Linked DNA regions of Homo sapiens: region 2 is linked to region 1. The links are contacts of gene promoters, found by promoter capture Hi-C in human tissues and cell types (Jung and others, 2019). All regions are on one chromosome and are shown on one strand. The core of a region is centred on a gene start or on the middle of the fragment in contact, and the rest is flanking DNA. Distances in the headings are between cores, read along the strand shown. Region 1 holds the start of RCVRN (recoverin). Region 2 overlaps GAS7 (growth arrest specific 7).

What was found. Contacts are between HindIII fragments. The study calls those that stand out against the background at their distance.
Region 2: a fragment that was not itself captured here is called in contact with the fragment with the promoter of RCVRN in region 1 in 3 of the 25 tissues and cell types used here (bladder, dorsolateral prefrontal cortex and thymus).

What each region holds. Positions count from the first base shown.
Region 1 is chr17:9,902,171-9,907,514 of GRCh38, reverse strand. RCVRN (recoverin) reads left to right here and starts at 2,244. Exons shown (of 3, transcript NM_002903.3): 1 at 2,244-2,715. The coding sequence starts at 2,335. The HindIII fragment of the contact is 14,018 bases long and covers 1-5,344 here.
Region 2 is chr17:10,009,404-10,014,747 of GRCh38, reverse strand. All of the region lies in intron 2 of GAS7 (growth arrest specific 7), which reads left to right. Among named protein-coding and RNA genes, the nearest start is that of RCVRN, 110 kb to the right of the region's middle. The HindIII fragment of the contact is 7,446 bases long and covers 1-5,344 here.

The DNA.
Region 1 (5,344 bases), core at 995-3,494:
AAACTCACAAAGTGATGGAAAAAAATTAGAAAGTTCACACACACACCCCAATATGCAGGTTTCCTGAGAAATCTCTGAAACTGTACTGGGCAGAGCGGCTGGGAGGGATGAGTCTGCCCCTTGGTGCCTGAACCTCTCGGTCCTTCCAGAGTGACATGAGGTGGGCCTGGCAGGTGGCTTTCTCCCAGCAGCAGGGACCTACCTTCTGCTGCCACTAGCCTGTTAGTAAGTAGGCTAAAATCCCCACTTTACACTTTGAGATGCAAGGCGGGCGGATCACCTGAGGTCAGGAGTTTACGAGACCAGCCTGACCAATATGGTGAAACCTCGACTCTACTAAAAATACCAAAAAAAAATTAGCTGGGCGTGGTGGCAGACACCTGTAGTCCCAGCTTCTCAGGGGACTGAGACAGGAGAATTGCTTGAAACCAGGAGGCGGAGGTTGCAGTGAGCCAAGATCGTGCCCAGCCTAAGTGACAGAGGGAGACTCCGTCTAAAAAAAAACCAGTTTACCTGCCTGGAGACCGTGGGGTTTATTCTTCATCATTCTCACCCCAGGGCAAAAAGAGACAACTCTCCATCCACGGTGGCAAGGCTGGGGTTCTGAGTGTGTCCCCTCGAGCACTGCGCTCCGCTAAGGAAAGTGCACGCCCACCCTCCCTTCCTTCTGGGTGACAAGAATCCAGGTGTGCAGCGTCCTCACTAGGTTGCTTCCTCGTGCTTGATACTCCCCGCTGAGCTGCACAGACGCGAAGCCTGCCTTTGCACAGCTCCGTCTCTGACCACTCAGTTATTTATCCATTCACTCAGCAAACACGTTTTCTTGCCTGCTCACTCCAAGTCCACTGCAGACGGACACCCTGCAGCCTGCCATGGACCCACAGATAGATTGTGTTTGGCCCACACCATGTTTTGTTTTGTTTTTGTTTTTGTTTTTGTTTTGTTTTTTTGAGATGGAGTCTCACACTTGTCACCCAGGCTGGAGTGCAATGGTGCAATCTCGGCTCACTGCAACCTCTGCCTCCCGGGTTCAAGCGATTCTCCAGCCTCAGCCTCCCAAGTAGCTGGGATTACAGTCACCTGCCACCATGCCCGGCTAATTTTTTGTATTTTTAGTAGAGACAGGGTTTCACCATGTTGGCCAGGCTGGTCTCGAACTCCTAACCTTGTAATCTCCCCACTCAGTCTCCCAAAGTGCTGGGATTACAGACGTGAGCCACCATTAAAATTTTGAATTAATTGCCAAAGTTGAAAAGTGTGGAAATTGCAAGAAAAATTCTGATTTTTGGATTTCTCTTGAATAATTTAAAAAAACCCAAAAATCTCACCATCCCATGTGACCACGTTCTCTGGCAGCCCCTTCCCGAGGTGACACAGGCCTGGCTGCCCCCTGCTGGTCCCTTCAGGCAGTTCACCTTCACTCCCTGTGACTGATGGACAATAACAAAACGAGTGTTTAGCATTAGCCATGTGCCAGTTTCTAAGTGTGTCAGACATATTGACTCACATCAGCCTCACAATGACAGTGTGGTAGATGCTATGATGCCCATTTATTCAAGAAAGACTTGCTGGGGGCCCAAGCCTATCAGGTTCTGGCAATGGAAATGCATCCGGGAACAACACAGACAAAATCCCATCCTTCACGGAGCTTTCATTCCGGTGAGGGGACATGCAGCGTGCCGATGATGGTGGGGGTTGTGCTATTATAGATAGAGGGTCAGTATAGGCCTGGCTGAGCAGGTGACATTTAAGCAGAGACATGACTGCAGTGAAGGTTTAGAAGAGTGTCCCAGGTGGAAAGAGGTGAAGAAACAAGCCTGGGGCCACACAGCTAGTTAAGTAGCCAAGCTGGGACTTGAACCCATGCTGGCCCCAGAGTCTGTGCTCCTAACCATTGCATTCTAGGGCTTGATATGAGATGCCAGCCCCGCCCCGAGATGCTCAGAGTTAGTGAGGAAGAGAAACAGGGAACATGGCTGCTGTTAGAGGGCTGGGGCTGGGGGTGCCGGAGGCCCCAGCTCTGAGGGTTCCAACCTCCTGTCCTGTTCTAGTATCGTCCCGGGAGGCCGAGATGAATTGCCTGCCTGCCCTGGGCTCTTTATTTTAATCTCACTAGGGTTCTGGGAGCACCCCCCCCCACCGCTCCCGCCCTCCACAAAGCTCCTGGGCCCCTCCTCCCTTCAAGGATTGCGAAGAACTGGTCGCAAATCCTCCTAAGCCACCAGCATCTCGGTCTTCAGCTCACACCAGCCTTGAGCCCAGCCTGCGGCCAGGGGACCACGCACGTCCCACCCACCCAGCGACTCCCCAGCCGCTGCCCACTCTTCCTCACTCATGGGGAACAGCAAAAGTGGGGCCCTGTCCAAGGAGATCCTGGAGGAGCTGCAGCTGAACACCAAGTTCTCGGAGGAGGAGCTGTGCTCCTGGTACCAGTCCTTCCTGAAGGACTGTCCCACCGGCCGCATCACCCAGCAGCAGTTCCAGAGCATCTACGCCAAGTTCTTCCCCGACACCGACCCCAAGGCCTACGCCCAGCATGTGTTCCGCAGCTTCGATTCCAACCTCGACGGCACCCTGGACTTCAAGGAGTACGTCATCGCCCTGCACATGACCACCGCGGGCAAGACCAACCAGAAGCTGGAGTGGGCCTTCTCCCTCTACGACGTGGACGGTAACGGGACCATCAGCAAGAATGAAGTGCTGGAGATCGTCATGGTCAGTCTCCCCTCTCCCCTTCTGGCTGGGCGGTGCCGGGGTCGCTCCGGGCTGGGGGTCCCCTGCTGCAGCTGCTGCAGAGGGAGTGGATCTGTGGGTGGAGCGGGGGATGCGGGCCACTGGCTCTGAGAGCGTGGTGCTCCGAGATGCTGATATTGATAGAGGGGTGGGCACTTGCCCACAGCTTCGTTGTCTTCCCGGAGCAGAATCTGAGTGTTTCCTAATACAGCCATGTTATGCTTGGCTTCACGATGTTTGGGTCAACAACGGACGATATAGACCACTGTGGTCCCATAAGATTGTAATGGAGCTGAAAAATTCCTACTGCCTAGTGACGTCATAGCACAGTTACTTTATTTTTCAAATGCATTTAGTGTAGCCTAAGTGTATCCGTAAAGTCTGTAGTTGTGTACGGTAATGTCCTAGTTCTTCACATTCACTCACTACTCACTCACTGACTCACCCAGAGCAACTCCCAGTCCTGCAAGCTCCACTCATGGTGAGTGCCCTAGACAGGTCTACCATTTTGTATCTTGGTTTTTTATTTTTTATTTTTTTGAGATGGAGTCTCACTCTGTAGCCCAGAGCTGGAGTGCAATAGTGCGATCTTGGCTCACTGCAACCTCTGCCTCCCGAGTTCAAGCAATTCTCCTGTCTCAGCCTCCCGAGTAGCTGGGATTACAGGTGTGCACCACTATGCCTAGCTAATTTTTGTATTTTTAGTAGAGACGGGGTTTCACCATGTTGGTCAGGCTGGTCTCAAACTCCCGACCTCCAGCGATCCGCCAGCCTCAGCCTCCCAAAGTGCTGGGATTTACAGGCATGAGCCACTGTGCCCGGCCCATTTTTTATCTTTATACTGTATTTTTACTGCATGATTTCTATGTTTAGCTATGTTTAGATGCACAAATACTTACCATCGTGTGACAACTGCCTGCAACATTCAGGACAGTCACGTGCTGCACAGGTTTGTAGCCTAGGAGCAAAAGGCTGGACCATGGAGCTCAGGGATGTAGTCGGCTCTACCATCTGTGTTCGTGCAAGGATGCTCTATGATGTTCCCACATAGAAGTTGCCTTAAGATGTGTTTCTCGGAATGTATTCCTGTCTCTGAGCGACACGTGACTATATTTACATTTTTTCTTTCTCTCCATCCTTTGTTTCTTCCTTCCTTTATTAAAATGTCCTTTGAAATTTTCAGCAGTACACATTCAAGTTGAATCACTGTTCATTCTAAACACACAATATGCTTCTAATATAAAGTAGAAAGAGGTCAAAGTTGGGGGCATGAACTCTGAGTTCTAGTCCTCATGTTCTCCCCAGCGCGGGGCGGATCATGGCACCACGCATGAGCCCCCGCTTCCCACGCGCGGCGTGGCTCCCCGGCTCCTGACAGTTTCCCTGTGAGGCGCACAGGCTTCCATATGGTTCCCAACACGCCTTCTCCCCTGTCCATACTGTCCTCCTGTCAGATCCTTTGTTGTGAAAGTAATGGCAAAAACCATAATTACTTTTCCACTAACCTCGTAGGTGTCTTGAAAATGGTTTATCTGATATAAAAGTAACTCATGAAATTTAGAAACCTAGGCAAAAGAGACTAACAATTGCCTCTAATTCCAACATCCAGGGAAAACTTTTCTTAGTATATCAGTATATACCTTTTCAGTCTTTTACCTATATAATTTTAAATAATGTTAAAGCTATGACATATTCACATACGATTTTTTATCATACATTTTTCAGTTACTCTTTTATCATGAGTGCTTTCCATATCATTACATATTCTTCCAAAACACTTTTTTTTTTTCTTCAGACAGAGTTTTGCTCTTGTCGCCCAGGCTGGAGTGCAGTGGCGTGATCTCAGCTCACTGCAACCTCCCCCTCCTGGGTTTGAGCAATTCTCCTGCCTCAGCCTCACGAGTAGCTGGGATTACAGGCACCTGCCCAGCTAATTTTTGTATTTTAGTAGAGACGGGGTTTCACCATGTTGGCCAGGCTGGTCTCGAACTCCTGACCTCAGGTGATCTGCCCGCCTCGGCCTCCCAAAGTGCTGGGATTACAGGCGTGAGCTTCCGCACCCAACCTCTTCCAAAACTCTTTTAATAGCTGCTTGGAATTCTGGCTTATGGAAATGTGGAAATTATTGAACATTCCTATGTTTTTGGACATTAGGTTGTTTCCATTTCTTTCCTATTATACCAGTTCTAATTTCCTTCATTTGATTTTTTTTTAATTTATTCTTTTTCAGTCCCCCTGCCCCTGCCACTTACCTTATTCTTCTAATTCCATTCCTGTTAGTAGAGACTATTGTTTAGATGTTAATAACTTTGTGTGCATTGGCAATCATGCTTTCATTTGCATGATGACAAATGCACAAAAATCTTCCACAGTTATTAGGAGAAATCATAAATAAAACAGCAGAGCATGCAGCTTGTGGTCCATGGGCTTATCCTCAATGCTCAGCTCGGGCCTCCCATTCTGGCAGGCATGTGTCTCTCTCATTGTTATCTTGGCACAGCCTGCAGAGAAAGCTCCCTCGGATTGGCTGTGGGGTCTCTGGGTGGCCTGGGACAGGGACTAAGTCTTCAGAGTGGCATAAACAATGCAGGGCCCAGCAGAAGCCTACAAA
Region 2 (5,344 bases), core at 2,064-4,563, 110 kb before region 1:
CAGTTCTAATAGGGCCAGAGACACATATAAACCTATAAGTGTTACAGGTATTCGTGTGGAAATCTGGGGGCTCGAGGAAGGGAGTAGTCAGCTTGATCTGGGTATTAACCAAGTCTTTGCAGGGGGAGGGGGCGGCCTTGACTCAGGCATTCCAAGCCAAGGTTACAGCATGAGTAAAGACCAGGCAGGAGAGAAAAACAGCGGATGTGTTTGGCATTGGTTAAGGAAGAAAGAGGTGAGAGAGAGAGTCAGGGGCCTTGGGGCATTTTGAGGAGTCAGGTCTTTATCCTGTAGGCAGCGGGAATCCATGGGAAATTTCCAGGCGGTGGCGTGACATGATCAGAATATTGTGGCAAGGCTGCTTGTGCGGCAGAGCGAAGGCTTTAAGGCCGGTAAGCGTGGAGGCCGACAGACTAAATGAGAGGAGAAATAATGAGGTCAAACACCAATTCTACAGCAGTGGCTGGAGAGGAGGAGGTAGAATCTGTCAGACAGGATGTGGCTGTGGCAGGTCAGGGATTGGAAGTGCCTGGATTCCTCCGGGTTTTCTGCCTTGTGTGATGGGACCATACAGTGAGTATAGGGTATTCAAGGGAGGAACAGGTTAGGAAGAAAGAAAAATGAGTCCATGCTGAGTGTGTGGTTCCCTGGGGTGCGTTCTGGGAGAGATGGCTGGCATTTGGATGGCTACGGTGTGACTTAGAGGACTTCTGAGCTAGAGATGGGAACTTGGTGAGCCATGTGGGTACATGGCCTGGCCACTGTTGCGCAGTGACCAACCTGCCCAGCCACAGAGGGTGGCCCAGGATTTGTGTTTCATCAGCAGAGAGGTGAAGTGATGAGGATGTAGAAGATCACCCGGGGCCTTGCAGCACAGGTGTAAGGCAGCAGCCAAGGAGACCTTGAAGGAATTGTCAGAGATACAAGGAATCCAGGAGAAGGTAATGTCATCAAAGGCAAGGGAGAATAGATAGGGAGGGGTAGTCAGGGACAGACTGAAATATAGATCAGGTTTATGATAAGAGTGTTGTTTTAAATCACTGGGGAAAGCATGGATTATTTAGTAAACGGCGTTGGGCCAGATGGCTAACAGGAAGTTTCAGTGGTTAATGCAGTAATGCCGTTGCTTTCATATAAACTTGCCAATGCCATCAGAGCATGCTCCGTGGACTTTGGGAAGTCCCCATCTTTCTTGTGGCTCTCTGGAAATTTCATCATGCAGAGTGGCCTTCAGTTCAGCCCCAGGAACTCCCAGGGTTTTGGTATCAGGAAATTGCTTGTCTTGTGCTGTCCAGGGAAGCTCTCCATTCCCACCAAAAGTTGCCTGTGTTGCTAACGGTTTGGGATAGTGAGCTATTATCAATAGCCTACCCCATCCAGGGACCTCAGCTAGTGTTAAGGAGACTGTCTTAGTCTGTGCAGGCTGCACTAACAAAAAGCCATAGACTGGATGACTTATAAACAATGGAAATTTATTTATCACAGTTCAGGAGGATGGGAAGTCCAGGATCAAGGTGCTGGCAGATTTGGTGTCGGGTGTGGGCCTGCTTTCTGGTTCATAAGAACAGCTGCATTCTGACGTGGTGGAAAGGACAAACAAGATCCTCTGGGTTTCTCTTTTTTTAATTTTTTTTTTTTTTTTTTTGAGACAGAGTCTCGGTCTGTCACCCAGGCTGGAGTGCAGTGGCACGATCTCGGCTCACTGCAACCTCCATCTCCTGGATTCAAGCGATTCTCCTGCCTCGGCCTCCCGAGTAGCTGGAACTATAAGTGCCCGCCACCACGCCCGGCTAATTTTTTGTATTTTTTAGTAGAGACGGGGTTTCACAGTGTTAGCCAGGATGGTCTCGATCTCCTGATCTCGTGATTCACCTGCCTCGGCCTCCCAAGGTGCTGGGATTACAGGCGTGAGCCACCGCGCCCTGCCTGGGTTTCTCTTTTAATGGCACTAACCCCATGATGGTGGAGCCTGCATGACTTAGTCACCTCCTAAAAGTGCCGCCGCTTCATACTGGCACATGGGGAATTAGGTTTCAACACGTGAATTTGGAGGGGACACAAACATTCAGACCACGACAGGGACCTCTTATTTATACAACAAATAATTATATTTCAAGAGATATAGCACAACATTTTTTGCTCCATTTATGATTGAAAGGTCGGCTGGGTGTGGTGGCTCTCACCTGTAATCCAGCACTTTGGGAAGCCGAGGTGGGCAGATCACTTGAGCCCAGGAGCTCAAGACCAGCCTGGGGACCATGGTGAAACCCCGTCTCTATTAAAAATACAAAAATTAGCCGGGTGTGGTGGCGCACACCTGTAGTCCCAGCTACTTGGGAGGCTGAGGTGGAAGGATCACTTGAGCCCAGGAGGCAGAGGTTGCAATGAACCGAAATCACACCATTGCTCTCCAGCCTGGGTGACAGAGCAAGCCACTGTCTCAAATAAATAAATAAAATAAAAATATAACTGGAAGGCCAGGCATGCATGCTTCTTCACTTAATATAGTCATAGGTATTCAGGCCCTCTTTTTGGAGAGATGCTGACCTTTTAGATATGTTTAGGATACATTTTACCATTTGGACATTAGGGATATTTGAAGCCAGTATAGATAGATGGCCAAGATTAGTTTAGTTTAATGTATTAGTCAAGATTTTACTTCTTATTTATTAATCTTTTTATACTCTAAATCCAGTAGTTTTATCTGTGCCATTCTTTTTTTTTAAACAAAGAGTACCATTTGAGATGGTATCTTTTGTTTTTTTTTTTTTTGAGATGGAGTTTCACTCTTGTTGCCCAAGCTGGAGTGCAATGGTGCAATCTCGGCCCACACAACCTCCACCTCCCAGGTTCAAGCGATTCTCCTGCCTCAGCCTCCCTAGTAGCTGGGACCACAGGCATGTGCCACCACGCCTGGCTAATTTTGTATTTTTAGTAGAGACGGGGTTTCTCCATGTTGGTCAGGCTGGTCTCGAACTTCCGACCTCAGGTGATCCACCCGCCTCGGCCTCCCAAAGTGCTGGGATTACAGGCATGAGCCACCGCACCCGGCCTTGAGATGGTATCTTAACCCTTTCTCCCCCACTATAAAGCAGAGCCTGATGCAAGGATTGAGTGTTAACACCTTATTTAGGAGGTATCAGTACAAAGTGGTGAGGGTAGGTATGCAAGGGAAGGAAAGCCAAAGAACAATGCCAAGTGATGCTGGCTGGTGTTTGACAGTGAAATGCAGAGTCCCAGCCGGTCACTTAGTGGATATGTTCACTTCTGGAAGGGCTGCAAGGAGGAGCCGTAGCCTGGAGTAGTCTGCAGGAAAGCAGAGATGTTTTATCTACTCACCTCTGTCTTGTCTCCTATTTCACACTGGCCAAGCCCCTCCCCTTGCACAGCTATTTCCCTACACATTTGGTTTGTACCATCTGACTCCTACCAAGCTCTCAGAAAGCCAGATTCCACCATGCAGAGTGATGCTTCATCCAAGCCCAAGGCAGTGGTCAGCAGAGCATGAGTGAGGTACCAAGCAAAACAGAAGGTGGCTGTTGATGGAACTATGAAGAGTCCAGTGCCTGTGTCCCTAGGCAGAGACTCTCCTAGAACTGAGTGCTGTGGTGAACATCTGTTTCCACCCTCAGACCTTGATAACTTGATCTTTCATAAAAGTGGGTTGCAGAGGCTAGTGATTTTGCTTCATAATCATCCTAGGAGGAAACTTCTAAATCCTCTAACTCAGGGGTTGGCAAACTGTGGCCTATGGGCCAAATTCAACTCACAGCTGTTTTTGTAAATGAAGCTTTCTTTATTGGAACACAGCCATGCCCTTTTGTTTACATATTGTCTATGGCTGGTTTTGCACGGAGATTGTAGAGCTGAGTACAAGCTGTCTCCAACTTAAAATGGTTGGACTTAACGATCTGACTTGGTGTAAAAGTGATACTCATTCACTAGAAACTGTACTTTAGTTCAGTATTCAATAAATTACAAGAGATGTATAACACTTCACTACAAAATAGGCTTTATGATAGATGATTTTGCCCAACTGTAGGCTAACGGAAGTGTTCTGGGCACGTCTAAGGTAGGTGAGGCGAAGCTATAGTATTCAGTAGTTTAGGTGTAATACATGCATTTTTGACATACAATATTTGCAAGTTACAATGGGTTTCTCAGTATATAGCCCTGTCATAAGTTGAGGGTATCTGTAGTTGCAGCAGAGACCACGTGGCTCACAAAGTGAAAATATTTACTCTCTGACCCTTAACAGAAAAAGTTTGACAATACCTGGTTTAAGAAATAGAATCAGGCTGGGCGCGGTGGCTCATGCCTGTAAACCCAGCACTTTGGGAGGCTGAGGCGGGCGGATCACCAGGTCAGGAGATCAAGACCATCCTGGCTAACACGGTGAAACCCTGTCTCTACTAAAAAAACACAAAAATTTAGCCCGGCGTGGTGGCGGGTGCCTGTAAGTCCCAGCTACTCGGGAGGCTGAGGCAGGAGAATGGCGTGAACCCAGGAGGTGGAGCTTGCAGTGAGCCAAGATCACGCCACTGCACTCCAGCCTGGGCAACAGAGGGAGACGCCCCCCCAAAAAAGAAAGAAAAAAAAAAAGAAATAGAACCTGTTTGTTTTACATATATAGAAATGAAGTCCCTGCATGGTAAAGGGACTTGATCCAAGCTATCTGGTCATTTATAAGCCAAGCTGTGACCAGACTGCCCAGTCTTCTAATCTTTTCTTTTTTGCCTCAGTATTTGGAGGAATGGGCATGGGTGGCAGTGACTTAAGTTGGAATGAGAATAACTGAGTTTGTGGATTAGTAGATAAAGAAAAATAATCTGAAATAACAATTTTTTAAGGGAAACCTATGCATCTTTTTAAAGCATGAACCCAAGTCCAGGAGAGTTGAAAATTGTTTTTAAGCTTTTTTATTTTATTTTATTTTTTTAGTTGACTTCCTGGGCTCAAGTAATCCTTCCACCTTAGCCTTCCAAGTAGCTGGGACCATGGGCATATGTCACCACACCAGGCTACTGGAAAAAAAAAAGTGTTTTATTTTTTGTTTGGTTTTTTTTTTTTTTTTTTGAGAAGGGGTCTTGCTATATTGCCCAGGCTGGTCTTGAACTCCGGGCTCAAGCAATCCTCCTATCTTGGCCTCCCAAAATGTTGGGATTACAGGCATGAGTACCACACTCAGGCTTTTAAGCTCTATAGATTTATAGATCTATATCTATAAATGTGTTATGTTTGTGAGCGAAGCTTGGAGGACTAAACCAGGATGTGAGCTTTTGGATTCCTTTGCCAAATAGTAATTTTCTTGATTTCTTGCTTTAATTTTTCTTTAAATGAGTGG